6 separate regions of the Homo sapiens genome follow, and regions 1, 2, 4, 5 and 6 are each linked to region 3. Evidence: promoter capture Hi-C in 16 types of primary human blood cells and fetal thymus (Javierre and others, 2016). All regions are on one chromosome and are shown on one strand. The core of a region is centred on a gene start or on the middle of the fragment in contact, and the rest is flanking DNA. Distances in the headings are between cores, read along the strand shown. Region 1 has its middle 42 kb from the start of GLS. Region 2 overlaps STAT4 (signal transducer and activator of transcription 4). Region 3 holds the start of NEMP2 (nuclear envelope integral membrane protein 2). Region 4 overlaps STAT1 (signal transducer and activator of transcription 1). Region 5 overlaps GLS (glutaminase). Region 6 overlaps GLS (glutaminase).

Region 1 (2,700 bases), core at 64-2,563, 300 kb before region 3:
AGGCTGGAAAAGCTAGGACTTCTGGGTTACATAGCACCTGAGGGCTTCAGGAAGCACGAAAGATAGGATTTGTGTGCAGGTTCTAAGTTCTAAGGTCAGAGCCTGAATCATGGAGTAAAATGTGAATCAAAGTTTTCAACAAGGATATGTTAAGTAGGGTTTTACATTAAGGCCACTCAAGAATAATTCTGTGTCTAAATTCATCTATACATATTCTTGTCAATAATTGATCTCTGTGTTAGTCATTATTTCTATTGTCTTTTTTTCTGAAACTTCATAGCAAAAGCACATCTAACATTTCAGATCACTTTAAGGATAAGATGGGGTGAAATAATACACCCTCTGGAAAGCTAATTTCTCTGAAAAAATGCACAGACCTTAAGAGAAATTTGCAGGTATGAAAAGTGATCATTGGTAAGTTATGCAGTCTCTGACCTTCATCCATTCTTTCTTACCTCCCAAATAGAGGTTTGTGAGAATAATAACATATCCACATATGTATTGCCACAGAAACAAATATACCAAACATGTAGTCATATACATTAAACAAACTGTGTCACCCAGGTGATAGGAGTAGGAAATGCTCAGAATCTCCTAAGGTGTGTTATTTAGTATTTAGCATTTTACATTTATCTCATTAAAGTTTTGTGCTATATTAGAGCCTATATGGATCAATAAGCACTGCCAAACTGCTGAAGGCGATACAACTATTGAAATGTTTAGCACAAAATTTACAATGCTATAATCTCACATATTATAAAACCTAAATTCTGCAGCAGAGGGACCTGGACTCCTAGACTTCAGCTCTGTTTCTATTGCTCTTTCTATAATTCTTACTATAATTACTATAATTTCTGTTGCTTTTACTATAATTCAAATTTATTGTTTTTGATGTCAGAGTCTTTCCTAGAAGTTACATAAAACTCTGAAATTGGATCAGGCCAGTTGGGGAGTATTATGATAGGCGCTAGAATAGTGAAATTCGACCAAAGTTTGGAAAAGAAAGGACTGAAGAGAAGCGGTCATCTTCTTTCTCCCTTCTCCCTTCCTGTGGTTGATTGCAAAAATGGCTGCAATACTTTGCAGCTCCTTCCAGCAAGAAGTGGAGTCTATTTCCCCACCCCCAAGATCAGGTGGGCTGCTCTTGAAACTTGCTTGGGCCAAGAATGTGATGGAAGTGATAGTTTGTGTGTTTTTTATTTTATTTTTTTATTATACTTTAAGTTTTACGGTACATGTGCACAACATGCAGGTTTGTTACATATGTATACATGTGCCATGTCAGTGTGCTGCACCCATTAACTCGTCATTTAACATTAGGTATATCTCCTAATGCTATCCCTCCCCCTCCCCCCACCCCACAACAGGCCCGGTGTGTGATGTTCCCCTTCCTGTGTCCATGTGTTCTCATTGTTCAATTCCCACCTATGAGTGGGAACATGCGGTGTTTGGTTTTTTGTCCTTGTGATAGTTTGCTGAGAATGATGGTTTCCAGCTTCATCCATGTCCCTACAAAAGACATGAACTCGTCATTTTTTATGGTTGCGTGTGTTTTGAATCCAGGTGTCAAGAGACCTCAGAGCTTTCATTCCTTCTGATCTCAGACTCCTGCCCAACATATCTTGGGCATCAAGGGAGACCGAGAGGGGCAGAAAGCTGCAATAGTTGAACAGTCCTAGACTAACCAGCCCTAGCTAACCCACCAGCTGCCCACGGATACATGAACAAGTCCAGCTGTAAGATCATCTTAGCCTGTACAAAGCCAAACCACCAAGCTGAGCCCAGTCCAAAATGCCAAACTGCAATTTGTTTTGAGTCACAAAGTTTGGGGGCAACTTTATGAAATAGCAAAGTCTGATAGCTCTAACCACATCTATGAGTCACACAGCCTAGAAATGTTATCAAGTAAGTATTTTCCTCAAAGTAAAAGTTTTATAGAGTCACTTAAATCAGTGCTACTAAAAGTGCTGATCCAGAGAGACAAAGAGCTTGCACCAGAATGTCAATCTGTACACTTCTTCCCTCATCAACAAAGTCTTGCTGCAAAAATCGTGTCAGCTGAATTAAATGGTGTGCATAGTTGACATATTTGGTTTATATTCTTGTGCAAACTGAAAATACTCAGATAGTAAGAATTTAGGCTTTTCAGGCCATACAGTAGTTGTCACAATTTTAGGCTTTGTATACCGTACAGTCCCTGTCAACTTTGTCAGTATAGCACAGAAGCAGCCATAGGCAACAAATAAATGAATGGGCATGGCTATGCTTCAATGAAACTAAGAAGCAGACAGCAGTCTGGTTTTGGTTTGTGGGCCATAGCATGCTGAATCCTGAATCCTAAGCCATTTCAGCAGCTCATCCCGTCAAAGCTCATTATCGTGTCTGCTTTTATAATAATGTCAAAAGAATGTAGGCAAGAGCAAAAACAGAATTGGAGATATCTTTCCTTAGAGACCAGAAAACCAAATGCCTGAAATAGTTGTTTCAGATGCCCCAACATGGAGATAGAGGGATAGAATGAAATATGGAAAATTGTACATAATTATTTAAAATGTATATGAGTAATAAAGTGCACAAGTACTGCCAGTCAAGGCCCTGGGCCAAATTTGGAAAAAATAAATATTCTAAGAAGGTTTCATTTCAAAATGTTGATATCTCAACATTACTGCTTAGCAGTAAGGAGTTGGAATATTCCTTCCC
Region 2 (2,700 bases), core at 167-2,666, 490 kb before region 3:
CTCATCAATAATATATGAATAACAGTCAATGGCATAATAATGCTCTCCTTTTTGAGAAATGAGTCATAATCTTTAATGCAATAATGTTATTTGGGATGCATGCTATTTGCTCTTATCCACCAATACTGTCAATGGGTTCAAACCCCCAATTTACATGAAAGTGAACATACATCAGAATAATATAATAGAAACTTGGAGAGACCCTAAGCCTCAAAAAATTTTTATCTGGCTGGCTTTTAGTCCTTCTCTTGAAGATTTCCATAGATGAAAAATTCACTTTACTTTGATAGCTTATTCTAATGTTAGTTCCCTTAAATCGTCAAGTTATTTATGTCTAACTGAACATTTGCTACATTTTGCACCCATTTCCTCATTATGTTTTTGGTGGATAAACAGGCCTTTTTCTTAAAACACTTTTCTGTCTCCTTGAAAGGTACCTTTTATTTTAGACTGATCAACCCCAATTACTTTTGCAAATACTTAGTTTAAGTATTTTAACTAGGTAATAGAAAAATTATGGAGTAATTCGTAGAAAAGAGGACGTTTATTTGCCCAAGAAATAGTGATTGATTTGAAAACCAGTAGTTTCCTCAAAGATTATTTTCATTTTTAATTTTAGATGAAGTCTCCTTATTCTGCTGAATGACAGGATAAACTCTGACGCACCAAGAAAGGAAGCAAATGAAAAAGTTTAAAGACTGTTCTTTGCCCAATAACCACATTTTATTTCTTCAGCTTTGTAAATACCAGGTTCTAGGAAATGTTTGACATCTGAAGCTCTCTTCACACTCCCGTGGCACTCCTCAATTGGGAGTGTTGTGACTGAAATGCTTGAAACCAAAGCTTCAGATAAACTTGCAAGATAAGACAACTTTAAGAAACCAGTGTTAATAACAATATTAACAGAAGACTCGCTTGCCTGTGTTTGGTTTATTTCTCATTTTGTCTCTCTGGTGTTACTACGATTTTAGCTAGAAGATGTAAGTGTTAATGTTTCAGGGTAGGTCAAGAATAATAAAGTCACACCTACACCTCAGCAAGAAGGCGTGAGGGAAAAGCCAAATAAGCCAATCAGTATGATGAACGCTAGCAGGCATGGTGATCACAGTAGATCCAAGAGGAAAGTCGTGATGGGACATTAGCAGAAATTCACGGGGCATCCAGGGTTGAATTATGAAGCCTCCTTAGTGCCATGTCAACGTTATTCCAACTATGGGGTTCAACAGCTGCTGGTTCCAAAGGAGGAGGGATCCAGAGTCATTCCTGGTGGTATCTTGGGCAAACTGCACTGATTTTACAGGTATTGTAAGCAGACACATGGGTTAAAAAAATAATAATTTAAAAAAACTCATGAGGACTAGGAGGATGAAATGAGGACTAGGAGAATAACAACTCTGGCCTTGGGTAACTGATTTTATTCATAGGTTGCTCATTCTTCATCTCTAGAAGAGGTAAGACTATGTGGGTTCTATGATCTTTCCCAGCTCTAATAGTCTCTCTGGTCCTAAGAATCCAACCTGAGACTGGGGAAAGAGGTTTAGGATGAGATGTTCCATTCCTTCAATTTTCTCTAGTAAAGAGGAAGGGTAGTTGGTTTCCTGGATAGTAATGTATGTGAATTGCAAGTCTATTTTGGTCCTTGCCTCACCCCTACTGGATGTTTAGTGGTGCCATTGCCCAGCTGCTGTCCTTAGTAATAGCATGGAGCTCTCCAGTGCTCAAGACCTGGAGAGCTCTCTATGCCTGCTGAGCCCTGGGGATGCTGCTGAATCTGTTGAGCAAGTAATGCTACTGAGGCATCTGCCATGCCAGCTGCAGAAAAATCCAGAACCAGGTTTCAAGATGAGCCCTGACTGCAGAGTCAGAGATGGCAGCCCCCTCTGAAGGGCTCTTATTTCATTCCTTCTGCCCACCTCCTGTCCTCCAGGCAAACCAAATAGGCAGAGGCTAATGTTTGATGGAAAAGAGTTCAAAGGAATAAAAGCTTTTACTATAACCTGCCCTTTCCCTTAGAGAGATTCCATCTGAGCAATCTCATCCCACCCACATGTGCCCAACTGGCTCCTAGATTATTCCTATGGAACAAACTCTCCACCTGCCCCAAGGCCAGTTCCTTTACTCCTTTGTGAGCGCCTAAATGCTTTTAGGGTGGAGGCATCTGTTTGATGGAAGGGTGCATCTAACTGGAGGTGCATCCTCCCAGTCTCTACTTCTCTCCACAAAACCCGGTTTTCTAAAATTTGCCTGACACGTGTATCAACTGGCAGCAGAATTGGATGAAATAATTTAAACTGGAGCATGACTATTACAGTTTTATCTTTAAAGAAGTAATTTCCTACCAGGAAGTGCTCTTAAACAATTGGATTTAGACAAAATAGATTGCAGAAGCTCTTTGCTCCCTGGAATTTATCAAAAGTACAATGGACTCCTACCTATTTCACAGAAGTTTTAAAAACTTGTCAATTTAGAGCCTGGTAGCAGAATGCCAAGGTTTTCTATGTGATCACAGTCATCATTGTTATTTGGGGGTACAAAATGAAGGACATCTGTAGTTCATTTTCCATAATATGGACAATGGCCACGTTATAAAAGTTCAATAAGTGGCTATTTTTATTTAGATTCAGAAAATCAAAACTAAATTATTGACCCCAGAGTTAAGAGTTATTTCTCAAGATTGTGAATCTTGTACTCCAAAAATCA
Region 3 (2,727 bases), core at 195-2,694:
GAAAAATATTTATTGCTTATAGAGAAAAATGTGGTGTTTCAATATAGCTTCTTTACAGATATTTACTAAGGATCTGTGATATAAATAGCACTTTAAATATTTAGTACATTGCTGCCTGCCCTTTTGTTTCTCCACCAGATATATCTGTAGAAAATACATTCATCATTCAACAACCCACCTGTTTATTTTAGCTACTTTCCATAGTGCCATCCAAAATTAAACCAAATCAAAATGAATGTGGTTAGGTACAAAAGCTGTCTTGCAAGAAGCAAGTGCACACCGCACCTGGGAATACAGGAAAGAATTGGATCAGGGCTCTGCTGTTTCTCTGAAGACAGGCTTCACTCAAGTAATGATGGTTTATTTTTAAAAACCATCCCTCTGAAGAGTCCCTTACAAGGAAATTTCTTAACTTTTTAAAAGCCATACATGGTGTACACATGGTGCCAAGTGCTTAAGGGCAGTTGGTTAAACCTTTCTTTGAGGGCAAGGAAAGCCTAGTCCATCCTACTCAGACTTTTAGGAAAAATGAGGCTTATCTATTTTTAACAGGATAATTTCTGTTACTTTGGGTTCTCTAAGATATCTCACCAAAAGACCAGAATTAGAGAAGACTGTCCTAGTTAAGTATGGAATATTGAGTCAAATTAATGGGTTCCAGGTCCTGTGGAGGGAATGTTCTTTAAAATATATGTATATCTCCTAATTATCAGTATTAAGATCATTCAGGTTATATGTTAATTTAAAAATATATCTATTACATTAAGAAACTTTTTTTTAACATAAGGTAATTTTAAGAGAACCTTGTCATGTTGGTGAAGGAACATTTTACGAGCCCCTCTGTACTCTGAAATGCCGTGTCCGAGATTAGACATACAAGTCAGTGTTACTTAAGCGGCCAAATTTCCAATTTGTTATTGCTTGTTACCAAATGAAAGTAAAAAGATAAACAGAAAGGTAAAATAAAGAAACTGGCTTTTATGTATTTTATTCACAAAAAGGGCGTTTGCCGAAGGACCTTCCCATTCACGGGCTGTCACTCACAGGTGCTCGGAGAATTCAGCCTCCAAATCCGCAGGTCACAGGTCAGCCAAGTTTTAAGAAACACTCCGGGTTAGCGACTCTTCCTCTCTGCAACTCCCACCCCTGCGCCGAGGGCAGCGGGACACGGCCGGGCGGTCCCCAGGGGAAGATGAGGCCCTGGACGCCCCGCGTGCGCTGGAGGCCCGGAGGCCAAGGCCGAGGCCGAGGCCGAGGCCGGGAGCATGCCAGCGGGGTCGCGCCACCGAAAGCTCCTCCGGCCTGGGCCCGCCGTGCCCCGAGGCCGCGGGCGGAGGCTGGAGCAACGAGCCCAACTCTCCCTCCGCCCCGGGGAGGCGGGGTCTCCGCCTTTCCCGCGTTCGGGCCTCACCGCCCCCTCCGCCTTCTCTGAGCCCCCGCGCCACTTCCGCTCCTCGCAGCGGAGCCGGTCCCCTAGGGCTCGGGTCGCACGGAGCTGACCCCTAACGAAATGGGGCCGCGCCAAGGGCGGTGGTGGCTGCTGCTCTGGCTGCCGCCCCTGGCCACACTGCCCGTGCGCGGGGAGGCGGCGGCGGCAGCGTTATCAGGTAACCCGGGACCGGCGGCGGCGGCGCGCGCGTGCGTGCTCGCTCCCCGGCTTCGCGGCTGCCCTGAGGGCGCGCTCTTTGGCCCGGGCGGCACCGCGAGGCCCACTGGGGCGGGCGCTCCCTTTTCTCGCTTTGGGGTCTCCCGGGCAGGCCCCGCCCGCCCTTCCTGTCTTACTGGGCTTCCGTAGTCTCTCGCCTGGCAGTTGGACATTTTGTAATTTTAGAATTAGAAGCAACCGCGCGATCCAGTCGCCCAATTCCCTCGTTTTACAGAAGCAACCGAAACTCAGAGAGGTTTTGATTTGCCCAGGGTCACACAGCTTGTCACTGGCACAGCTGACCCTAGTCTCCAGACTTTCAGCACACGGCCTTTTGTACAGTACATCAATGCGTGTTGAAATCCTTGTTATTTCACTATCTCGCATTCCTTTGGTCTCAAGACTAGAGAAGGTAACAGCTTCAGCTTCAGAATCGGAGCGAAAATTCTTCTGCCCCTGACTGTTGTGACCTTGAGCGAGTAAACATAACGGTCCCACGTGAGCGGCAGGTAATGAGGCCTCACAAGGTTCTTGTGGTGTTCGTGTGCACAATGCCTGGCACACAGGAAGCAAGAACTGGTAGCGGCTGCTAGCTGTAGGGGCTCGCCACGGAGTGGGCTTAAGATGCTGGCACACTGGGGAAGGATCTGGGAAGGACACCTGGGGAAGTCAGAAACCTAGAGTTCCAACTCCAGACCTGCCGCTAACTTACCATGAGCTTCACATTTCTGTTTCTTTTTTTTTTTCCCCTCATAAAATCTTTTAAAAGATTTCCTGGGTGCACTGTCTACCAACTTCCCTTCCTTGCTTTGGCTACCCTGGTTTCAAGGGAGGCTGCCAAGTGTATTCTTTTAGCTGGGCATGGCCCTCCCTCCGGTTATACCGCGGTTTTTTATCTAAGGATGAATGAGAGACTGGATGTTGATGAGGTCATTATCAGATTCTGCCACAGCTCCCAACTGAGGGAATCTTGCAGTGAGTTATATGTTGGGGAAGTGTTGGATTCCAGTTTTCATTGAAGAGAAATTTTTTGAGTGTTCAGTATGTGCTAGGCAGTGTTATAAGTGCTTTAACTGCAGTAT
Region 4 (2,700 bases), core at 201-2,700, 480 kb before region 3:
AAATTTAAAAATTAGCCAGGCTTCTTGGCTCGTGTTTATTGTATTAGTCTGTTCTCATGCTGCTATAAAGAACTGCCCGAGACTAGGTAATTTATAAAGTGAAGAGGTTTAATTGACTCACAGTTCTGCATGGCAGAAGGCATCTCTTCACGGGGCAGCAGGAGAGAGAATAGATGCAAGCAGGGGAAATGCCAGTGGCTTATAAAACCATCAGATGTCATGAGGCTCACTCATTATCACGAGAACAGCATGGGGGAGACTGCCCCCATGATTCAGTTACCTCCACTGGTCCCGCCCTTAACACATGGGAATTATATTACAATTCGAGGTAAGATTTGGGTGGGGGCATAGAGCCAAACCATATCACTTGCAGTCTGAGCTCCTTGGGAGGCTGAGGTGGGAGGATTGCTCTAGTCCAGGGGTTGGAGGCTGCAGTGAACTGCGCTCCACTGCCACTGCGCTCCAACCTGGATGACAGAGCAAGTTCCTGTCTACTAAACACACACACACACACCTTGTTGATAGGGGAGTAAGTTACCTGGGTTCGCTTGGCTAATAAGAGGCGTTGCAGCTCCCATTGCCTGACGGTCCAGCATATCTGCTTTAGGTAGATCCTTATTAGTTACCAAGCAGGGAGGGAGACAGCCACAGATTTTTCCACTCAGGTAAAATAAAACTGAACTGAAAAATCAAATTGCTTCAGCAGGAGTGCCAAGGGGCTGGGCTTGGGTCCGTTTCTACTGGTATATATGAGGATAACTAGCTTTATAGGCCAGACATTTCCTCACACTCCTTTGGAAGGACATTTGTGGAGTAGGCGTGACCTCATGCCTGCATACATGTGCTCGGCTACAAGTATGCATACACACTCTTCCATGCCCTACTTGAAAATCCAGACTCCTTCCCCAGAGGTCTGGCAGGACAAGATTCACTTGTGTCTGCTCTGCATATTGCCACCTGTGTGCTGATATAAATCCTAAGTTACATGATGGTCATGGGAGACTCTCCGTTTTCCTAATGAATTTTAGGACTTGCTTATATCAAGTTTTTGTTGTGATTTTGAATCTTTAGGATCACTATGTAAAAATGGACTTAACAGTTATCCAAAAAGCTAAGTGTTACTTTATCCTTTTAAATTACATTTAATGATGTTTTAATCTTTAAAAATCATTACTTCTTTATGCCAGATTTATTGTTTGTAGTAGGCAAAGAAGAAAATATATCTTTTTAAATGTGTATAAGAAAAATAATGAATTTTACCATATGAATCATAAATATAAAACAGAAGTTTGAAAATATTTGAGTTAAATTACAAATGTACTGTGATTTGTAGGAGAGCAATTTTGGGAGAGTCTTGTGATTTGTCTTAAAGCAAGTCTAATTAAAATAATGTTTTTCATGTATTTATTTGATAAAATCACAAACTCATTTTAAAGGCATATTTATTGGATACCTACTATGTGGTTGACATTGTTCTAGGGATACACCAGTGCACAGAATCCTCCACCAACATCCATCCCTTCAAGTGGTGAAAACAGACAATAATGAAAATAAAATATGTGGTAGGTCAGATGGTGGTGTAAGTACTATGAAGAAAAATAAACCAGGGAAAAGAGAGAGCATGTTTCCAGGGTGGGAGGTGGTTGCAGTTTAAATAAAAGAGGCCAGAGAAGGCTGCCCTGATATGTTGACAATAAGCAAAGACATGAAGATGTGTTTCGTGGAGGAGAAAAAAAGTTCATCCCCAAACTCAATTAAAAACAGGCTTTAGACTATAAATGCCATTTAAATAAAATATTCCTGGGACAAACTATGTTTTGGATTAAGCAAGATATTTAAGAGTACAACCTGATGCTAGGAAGGCTTTCTTTGGAGCTATGGTTTCCATATACATAGAAAGAATGTATATTCTTTTTCCCTATAGGATGTCTCAGTGGTACGAACTTCAGCAGCTTGACTCAAAATTCCTGGAGCAGGTTCACCAGCTTTATGATGACAGTTTTCCCATGGAAATCAGACAGTACCTGGCACAGTGGTTAGAAAAGCAAGACTGGTAAGGAAAATTCACTAGACAGAAGAAGAAGTTTACACCTTAAAAGTACTGGTTGATTAAGTGACTTGGGGCCATGTTTACTGGAAGATGAATTCCATCAATGGCCACTGGAATTATTTGTTGTAGAAAAGTTTGTTGATTTAAAAAATGACTCAACAAAGTTGAGCCAAAAAGTGTCTCAACAAAGTTAAGTATATTAGTCATTAAGCACTTTTATACAGTTTTGCCAAATTTAATTTATGATAGATATTCCTAAATGCTTTGGACAAGTTACGGAATACTGACACCGATTATTTTCCAACTTAGGATCCAGACTATAGAAAGAAGTAATTTAAAAGAAATAAAGCCAAATTAATGGTTAAACATTGATTAGAAATATGAAGAAGGTAGTAAAATTAAGGGGATTTTTTTTAACTGATAGGTGTTCTACTTTAAAATTTATTATTTGCTAATTTAAAAACGTCCTGAAAGTATTTGACATAGAAAGTGAAGGGTCCCCTGTTGACTTTTCCCCCTTCAGAGATAGTCACCATGAACACTGTCATGCACAATCTCTTAGAGTTTAGAATTTTTTGTGCTAATTGCACATAAGAGAAATACCACATAAACTGCTGCTAAAAGCAATGTCAGTTTCAAAAGAAGAAAAT
Region 5 (2,700 bases), core at 151-2,650, 360 kb before region 3:
ATGAAATTTTTAAGAAAATCAAACATACAAATGAAAGGCTACCATTCACTTTCTTGCAAAACAAAAAGATCAAAAAATTATGATCATACAAAGAAAGTTTTAATACCTATAAAGTTAAAAATGCACGAATAAAGAAAGGATTAGTTTTCCACACAAATATTTTTACTTGTATTAGTGTTAAGATTTACTAGCATTAAAAACAATTGACTATCAACCTGGGTACAGGCAGTCTCCAACTTTCGAACAGGTTTTACTCCAAAAAGTATGCTTAGAACGTATTTTCCCAAGTTAAAAAAAGTCACACATAATAGTTTTCTCAGATTACCGAAAAAGTCTAAAAATATTAATCTACAATGTATTTTAGGTAAAATATTAACACACTGCTTCAACCAAACCTACCCACCTTTATAAATTATTTCTCTGGGGAAAAATGAATCCCATGTTTTAACATCTCCTCCCTAGCTGCATGAAAGGGAGAAGTTTATTTCTGGCAACACTAACTAGGTAACTTCTTATATTTGAAAACAGAGAAAAGAACATCTCTGAAGCAATCACCTTTCCAGGTGACTGAAAGCTATTAAAAGGTTAACAGTTGGAGGTTTTGAACCACCTCATTCTAAGAATAAAGAGAAATAATTATGCCCTAGAGACTTGTACTTTTCTACTGGTTGCTCATATAGACCATAAAACATTTGTCAAGTTGGAAACTGCCTGTATTACAAGCATAGATTTTTAAAAATTGGATTAGTGTTTAAAACAATAATTACTATCTCTTAATTGCAGGCAGAAAATTTAATGTTTGCAGTTCCCTGGCTTAATAATCAGAGGATTTAAATTGTTTTTAATTTCATATTTAAACATAACAACATGTTTACAAAACATAAATATTTTTTCAAGTATTAAAACCGTGTAACTTTAGGAGGCCGAGGCGGATGGATTACCTGAGGTCAGGAGTTCGAGACCAGCCTGGACAACGTGGTGAAACCCCGTCTCACTAAAAATACAAAAAAGCCAGGCATGGTGGCAGGCGCCCTTAATCCCAGATACTTGGGAATTTAGGTGGGAGAATCACTTGAACCCGGGAGGCAGAGGTTGTAGTGAGCCAAGATCATGTCACTACACTCCAGCCTGGGCGACAGAATGAGACTCTGTCTCTTAAAAAAAAAAAGTGTAAAATACTGCTTCCACTTAAAATTCCAAAGCAGTTCCCCTACTGATTATCAACAGATCTACCAACCATTACTCTAACAACTTCATTCACAGATACAACAAAATAATGCCCACAGAAAGCACTTTAATCAGAATATTGTGCAGACAGTTCATGAACACGAAAAATAATCCTTACCGCAAAGACACAAATAAATTTAGAAATGATGTTTTTCTGTCTCTTAAAAAGCAGGTTCTGGAAGTCAAAATTCCTAATACCAACTGCAACACGGACCTAAAGTCTACACTTTAAGGTCAGCTAAGTTAACAGAAACAAGAACCTCCTCGTGAAAAGATAAGAAACCCAAGCTGTCAGCAGTGCTTCACAGCATGCCAGGAAACTTCAGAGAACCACAGTTAAATACTTATACCTTCAGATGACTTCATACTCCAGGAGACATCTAGAACAAATCACCCAACCCCCAAAAGAAGATAAAACAAAAGTAAATACAACCATACATAACAAACTTTCAAAGTAGATGCAGAAATTTTTTGGATCCATGTCTGGAAAAAGCCAATGTCTTATAGTAGTATTTACAGTTTTATACTAGTTTCTACTTAAATAGTAGTAGTTTAAAATACTATTTGATTCTTTGGGATCCATTACACACATGTCCATTAAATCTTTAAGTAATCAAACTAATAGAAACACATTAATGAAGATAAATAATAAATATATGCAAATACAGGAACATCAAAGTAAAAATTCTCATTCAACCAAATCAAGGCTTTAATCGCCAAAGTTGCCTTTAGTTCTTTACTGTTTTGAAGAAAATGAAAATAGCCAAAAGCCTATGTATCAATATGTCTGAAGAGAGGAGAGGAGCAGACAATGCAGGTATGTAAATGTGAGGAACACAGGTCTGTCTGAAGCCCTCTCATTTTATGATGTCACCTAAATCACCTTGTGGAAAAGAACTAGAGACCATGCTGAGAAAGCGTGCAAGTCATGCAGATGAATTGGGGATCAATATAAGCAATGACAGGACAAAGGATGTGCTCTACTCAAACTGAATGCAATCTCCAAGTACTGTAAACTGGAAACATCGGTGGCTAAATTTGCTTAGAACAGATTTAAAGAAAGAATACTCTTAGCCCGGTGTATTATAGAACCTAATATGTACCAAGTTCTTCAAACAAATGATGTTTATAAATCCCCTTTTTCCATTACACAGGAAGCAGTGGCCTTCAAAGATGCAATTTTGTTTTAAAAGCAGAATCACCGTATAGCATAGCAAATCACCATTAAAGGTTTGGCAGAAACTTTTACTTTTTAAAAAGATCTTTGTCTAGCATGACACCATCTGATGTTGTTTGAAGAGTTAATCTTAACATATCCATACACTCTTTCAACCTGGGATCAGACGTTCGCAATCCTGTAGATTTGAGTGCCTGTTTTTAAAAAAATAAGAGTTTGTAAATATATAGTGCAAATAATGTATATGCTTATACCAACTATAAGATTTTATTCCTGTATATAAAAACTTCTACCCA
Region 6 (2,700 bases), core at 187-2,686, 380 kb before region 3:
CCTGGCTAACATGGTGAAACCCTGTCTCTACTAAAAATACAAAAAAAAAAAAAAAATTAGCCAGGCACAGTGGCGGGCGCCTGTAGTCCCAGCTACTCGGGAGGCTGAGGCAGGAGAATGGCGTGAACCTGGGAGGCAGAACTGCACTCCAGCCTGGGCGACAAGCAAGACTTCGTCTCAAAAAAAAAAAGTAAATTATAAAATTTTTCTGTAAATATGCCTGTCAAGTTACAGAATTTACATTCCTTTGAAGAATACTGTATGAATGAAAATTTGATAGAGGCACTGAGTTTTAACATTATCTATTAAAAAATTAATGTAACTATATTGCAATGTTTTATAGTTTTTACAACATATTTATGAATTGATTCATGTATTATACTTTATAACAGGTGAAAAACACTGTTAACAAGGACATCTGCCAATAAATTTAATAATAAAATGGCTCATTTAAAATCAATGCATCAGAGTTATTTTGTAAGTATCGCACTTGATTCCATTCATAAAGTATGGAGGTGCAAGCCAATTAAAAATTAGAGATCATAGAGGAAAAAGGCAAAAAGAGGTAACTAAAAACGATTTTGTGAAATACTCTTAATTTAGTCTTATGATAGAAAATGGTTTAAAGCTAAAGAGTATTAGGAAAATAAAAAATAAGACACTCCAGGTAAAAAAGAATGTTTTTCTAGATCTAGTATTTTCATAGATCAACCCTAAAAATAAAGTAACAGAACAATTTTCAGTTGACAATAAATGCTCTACCTTTCATTAAAAAAAAAAAACTAAAGCATAAACTGATATAAACAAGAAGTAAATAAACCAATATAATCCTGTCTTCTGAATGTTGCAAGTCCAAGGCATCATGCATTACTCTGAGAGTCACAAACTACTTTAAAAACCTGTCTTATAAGCATGCCTAACAGGTTATTGCTAACATAACCAAACTGAACATCACATATACATTAACTAAGCTTGTCTTGATTTTCAATGAGTATGATTACAAATTGTTTAAAGAGAAAGAAAAAAAACCCTAATTTTTAAAATTCAAAAATACTTTTGATTAAAAAGAAAATTGAACTTCTTTAAATGACAAAAACTGGAAACTACCACTAGAATGAGGCATGCCAAGTAGAGTGGCTAATGCCTGTCATCCCAGCATTTTGGGAGGCCAAACTTGGAGGATCACTTTAGGCCAGGAGTTTGGGACCAGCCTGGGCAATATGGCAAGACCCTAGCTTTATAAAGAATTAGCCCTGCATGGTAGCCTGTGCCTGTGGTCTCAGCTACTCTGGAGTCTGAGGTGGCAGGATCACTTGAGCACAGGAGTTTGAGGCTGCAGTGGGTTATGACTGTACCACTGCACTTAGACTGGGCAACAGAGAGAGACCTTGTCTCTAAAAAACAAAAAACAAAAAACTCTGAGAGGTAAAAACATAGAAGACAGTGTAACTTTTACTATTTCTAACATGAAAAAGCATTAAGTGTGGCAATTATTTTGCAGTATGTTGTCCTCATTTTCCTATCCTAACCCTTAAGTTATCACCAGATCTTAACTTTTAAACTAAAACTACGTGAAATTTTTACCAGTGAAAAGAAAACAAATACGTAAGGATACTGCTACATCATATAAAAATAACTGTTCCTTTCAAATTTATTTTTGTTCTTTCCTTTTAATCAAGCAATCACACATTATCACAATCCCAAATAAAACAGATTACAACAAAAAGTATTCCTTTAAAGTTAGTAGCTACCACAGAGAAAAAGAGAGGAAGTATAATACCCTTATGATTTTTAAAAATTATGTGCATTTTAAGTATAAAATTACATTTGTTTTTAAAAAGGTATTTACCTATATAGCTTTGTTTAAAATTTTAAATATTGGAGTTTTCCTATAAGCTTAGTAGTTAAGAATTTATGCAACAGGCTCCTTCTGTCCAAATTCTCCTTTTTTCCACAATCTGCTAATCCTTTTGAACATTTGCTCTGCCTCTTCCCCCATTTCCTGAGGATCACCACCAATCCTACAAGGAAAAAATATCAATACTACAAAATTATGAAATCAAGAGTCTTACTAAAGACTCTACTTAATTTTGGGGTGGGGGGATTAACATGAAGAAAATGATTTTAATGGCACCATGATAAATTCCTGAATTTTGAAAGAAAAAAAAAAATCACAAATAGCCTTAAGGTCATCAATTAAAAGAGCTAAAAACAGAATTCACCTCTAGTAGCCATGGTGAAATATCCGTGGCTTTGGGTACTCAGATGCAAGCATCTTGGAAAAGGGCCTGTTTCTTTACTGACTAATGTCCGAAGAATGACTACGTAACACTTGCTATCAAATGAGATACAACTTTTAAACCAATAAATTGTTATCGTTTGAACCAGTTCAAATTAAGGAAATAGTACTTCTGCATTTGGGGCAATATAACTATGCTAACTAAAATTAAAGATGTCATCAAGAGAAATGGCAAACACCTACGTTAAATATGGCAGAGTGAATTGTAATGAACAGCACATTGAGTATCAGGAGATTTAGTTCAAGTCCAATTCTACTGCTGTTACAACCTTGCCAGGTTCTCAGTTTCCTCCGTTATATAAAGTAAGAGAACTGGGTTTGACAATTTTTAAGGCCTTTTGGCTATGGTTTTATTACCTAAATTTCAAACCAATACCAATTTATAAATATTATGTGATCAT

What was found. Contacts are between HindIII fragments. The CHiCAGO score rates a contact against its expected background, and 5 or more counts as called.
Region 1: a fragment that was not itself captured here is called in contact with the fragment with the promoter of NEMP2 in region 3 in 1 of 17 cell types (activated CD4 T cells); the score reaches 5.2 in activated CD4 T cells.
Region 2: a fragment that was not itself captured here is called in contact with the fragment with the promoter of NEMP2 in region 3 in 1 of 17 cell types (activated CD4 T cells); the score reaches 5.6 in activated CD4 T cells.
Region 4: a contact is called between a fragment that was not itself captured here and the fragment with the promoter of NEMP2 in region 3, in 1 of 17 cell types (fetal thymus). The highest score is 5.4, in fetal thymus.
Region 5: a fragment that was not itself captured here is called in contact with the fragment with the promoter of NEMP2 in region 3 in 1 of 17 cell types (activated CD4 T cells); the score reaches 5.4 in activated CD4 T cells.
Region 6: a fragment that was not itself captured here is called in contact with the fragment with the promoter of NEMP2 in region 3 in 1 of 17 cell types (activated CD4 T cells); the score reaches 5.4 in activated CD4 T cells.

Annotation. Positions count from the first base shown.
Region 1 is chr2:190,837,825-190,840,524 of GRCh38, reverse strand. No RefSeq gene overlaps it. Among named protein-coding and RNA genes, the nearest start is that of GLS, 42 kb to the left of the region's middle. The HindIII fragment of the contact is 3,899 bases long and covers 1-2,700 here.
Region 2 is chr2:191,027,786-191,030,485 of GRCh38, reverse strand. It overlaps STAT4 (signal transducer and activator of transcription 4), which reads left to right. Exons shown (of 24, transcript NM_003151.4): 24 at 620-910. The coding sequence ends at 646. The region is part of intron 1 of STAT4-AS1 (STAT4 antisense RNA 1); the gene reads right to left. Among named protein-coding and RNA genes, the nearest start is that of STAT4-AS1, 7.6 kb to the right of the region's middle. The HindIII fragment of the contact is 1,141 bases long and covers 846-1,986 here.
Region 3 is chr2:190,533,439-190,536,165 of GRCh38, reverse strand. NEMP2 (nuclear envelope integral membrane protein 2) reads left to right here and starts at 1,444. Exons shown (of 9, transcript NM_001142645.2): 1 at 1,444-1,607. The coding sequence starts at 1,511. NEMP2-DT (NEMP2 divergent transcript) reads right to left here and starts at 1,328. Exons shown (of 5, transcript NR_183903.1): 1 at 1,045-1,328. RefSeq lists a silencer at 1,131-1,780. The HindIII fragment of the contact is 6,238 bases long and covers 1-2,727 here.
Region 4 is chr2:191,009,229-191,011,928 of GRCh38, reverse strand. STAT1 (signal transducer and activator of transcription 1) reads left to right here. Exons shown (of 25, transcript NM_007315.4): 3 at 1,925-2,053. The coding sequence starts at 1,926. Among named protein-coding and RNA genes, the nearest start is that of STAT1, 3.6 kb to the left of the region's middle. RefSeq lists enhancers at 105-194, 495-604. The HindIII fragment of the contact is 4,868 bases long and covers 1-2,700 here.
Region 5 is chr2:190,895,502-190,898,201 of GRCh38, reverse strand. GLS (glutaminase) reads right to left here. Exons shown (of 18, transcript NM_014905.5): 3 at 2,477-2,598. Among named protein-coding and RNA genes, the nearest start is that of GLS, 16 kb to the right of the region's middle. The HindIII fragment of the contact is 6,937 bases long and covers 1-2,700 here.
Region 6 is chr2:190,912,514-190,915,213 of GRCh38, reverse strand. The region is part of intron 7 of GLS (glutaminase); the gene reads right to left. Among named protein-coding and RNA genes, the nearest start is that of GLS, 33 kb to the right of the region's middle. The HindIII fragment of the contact is 925 bases long and covers 974-1,898 here.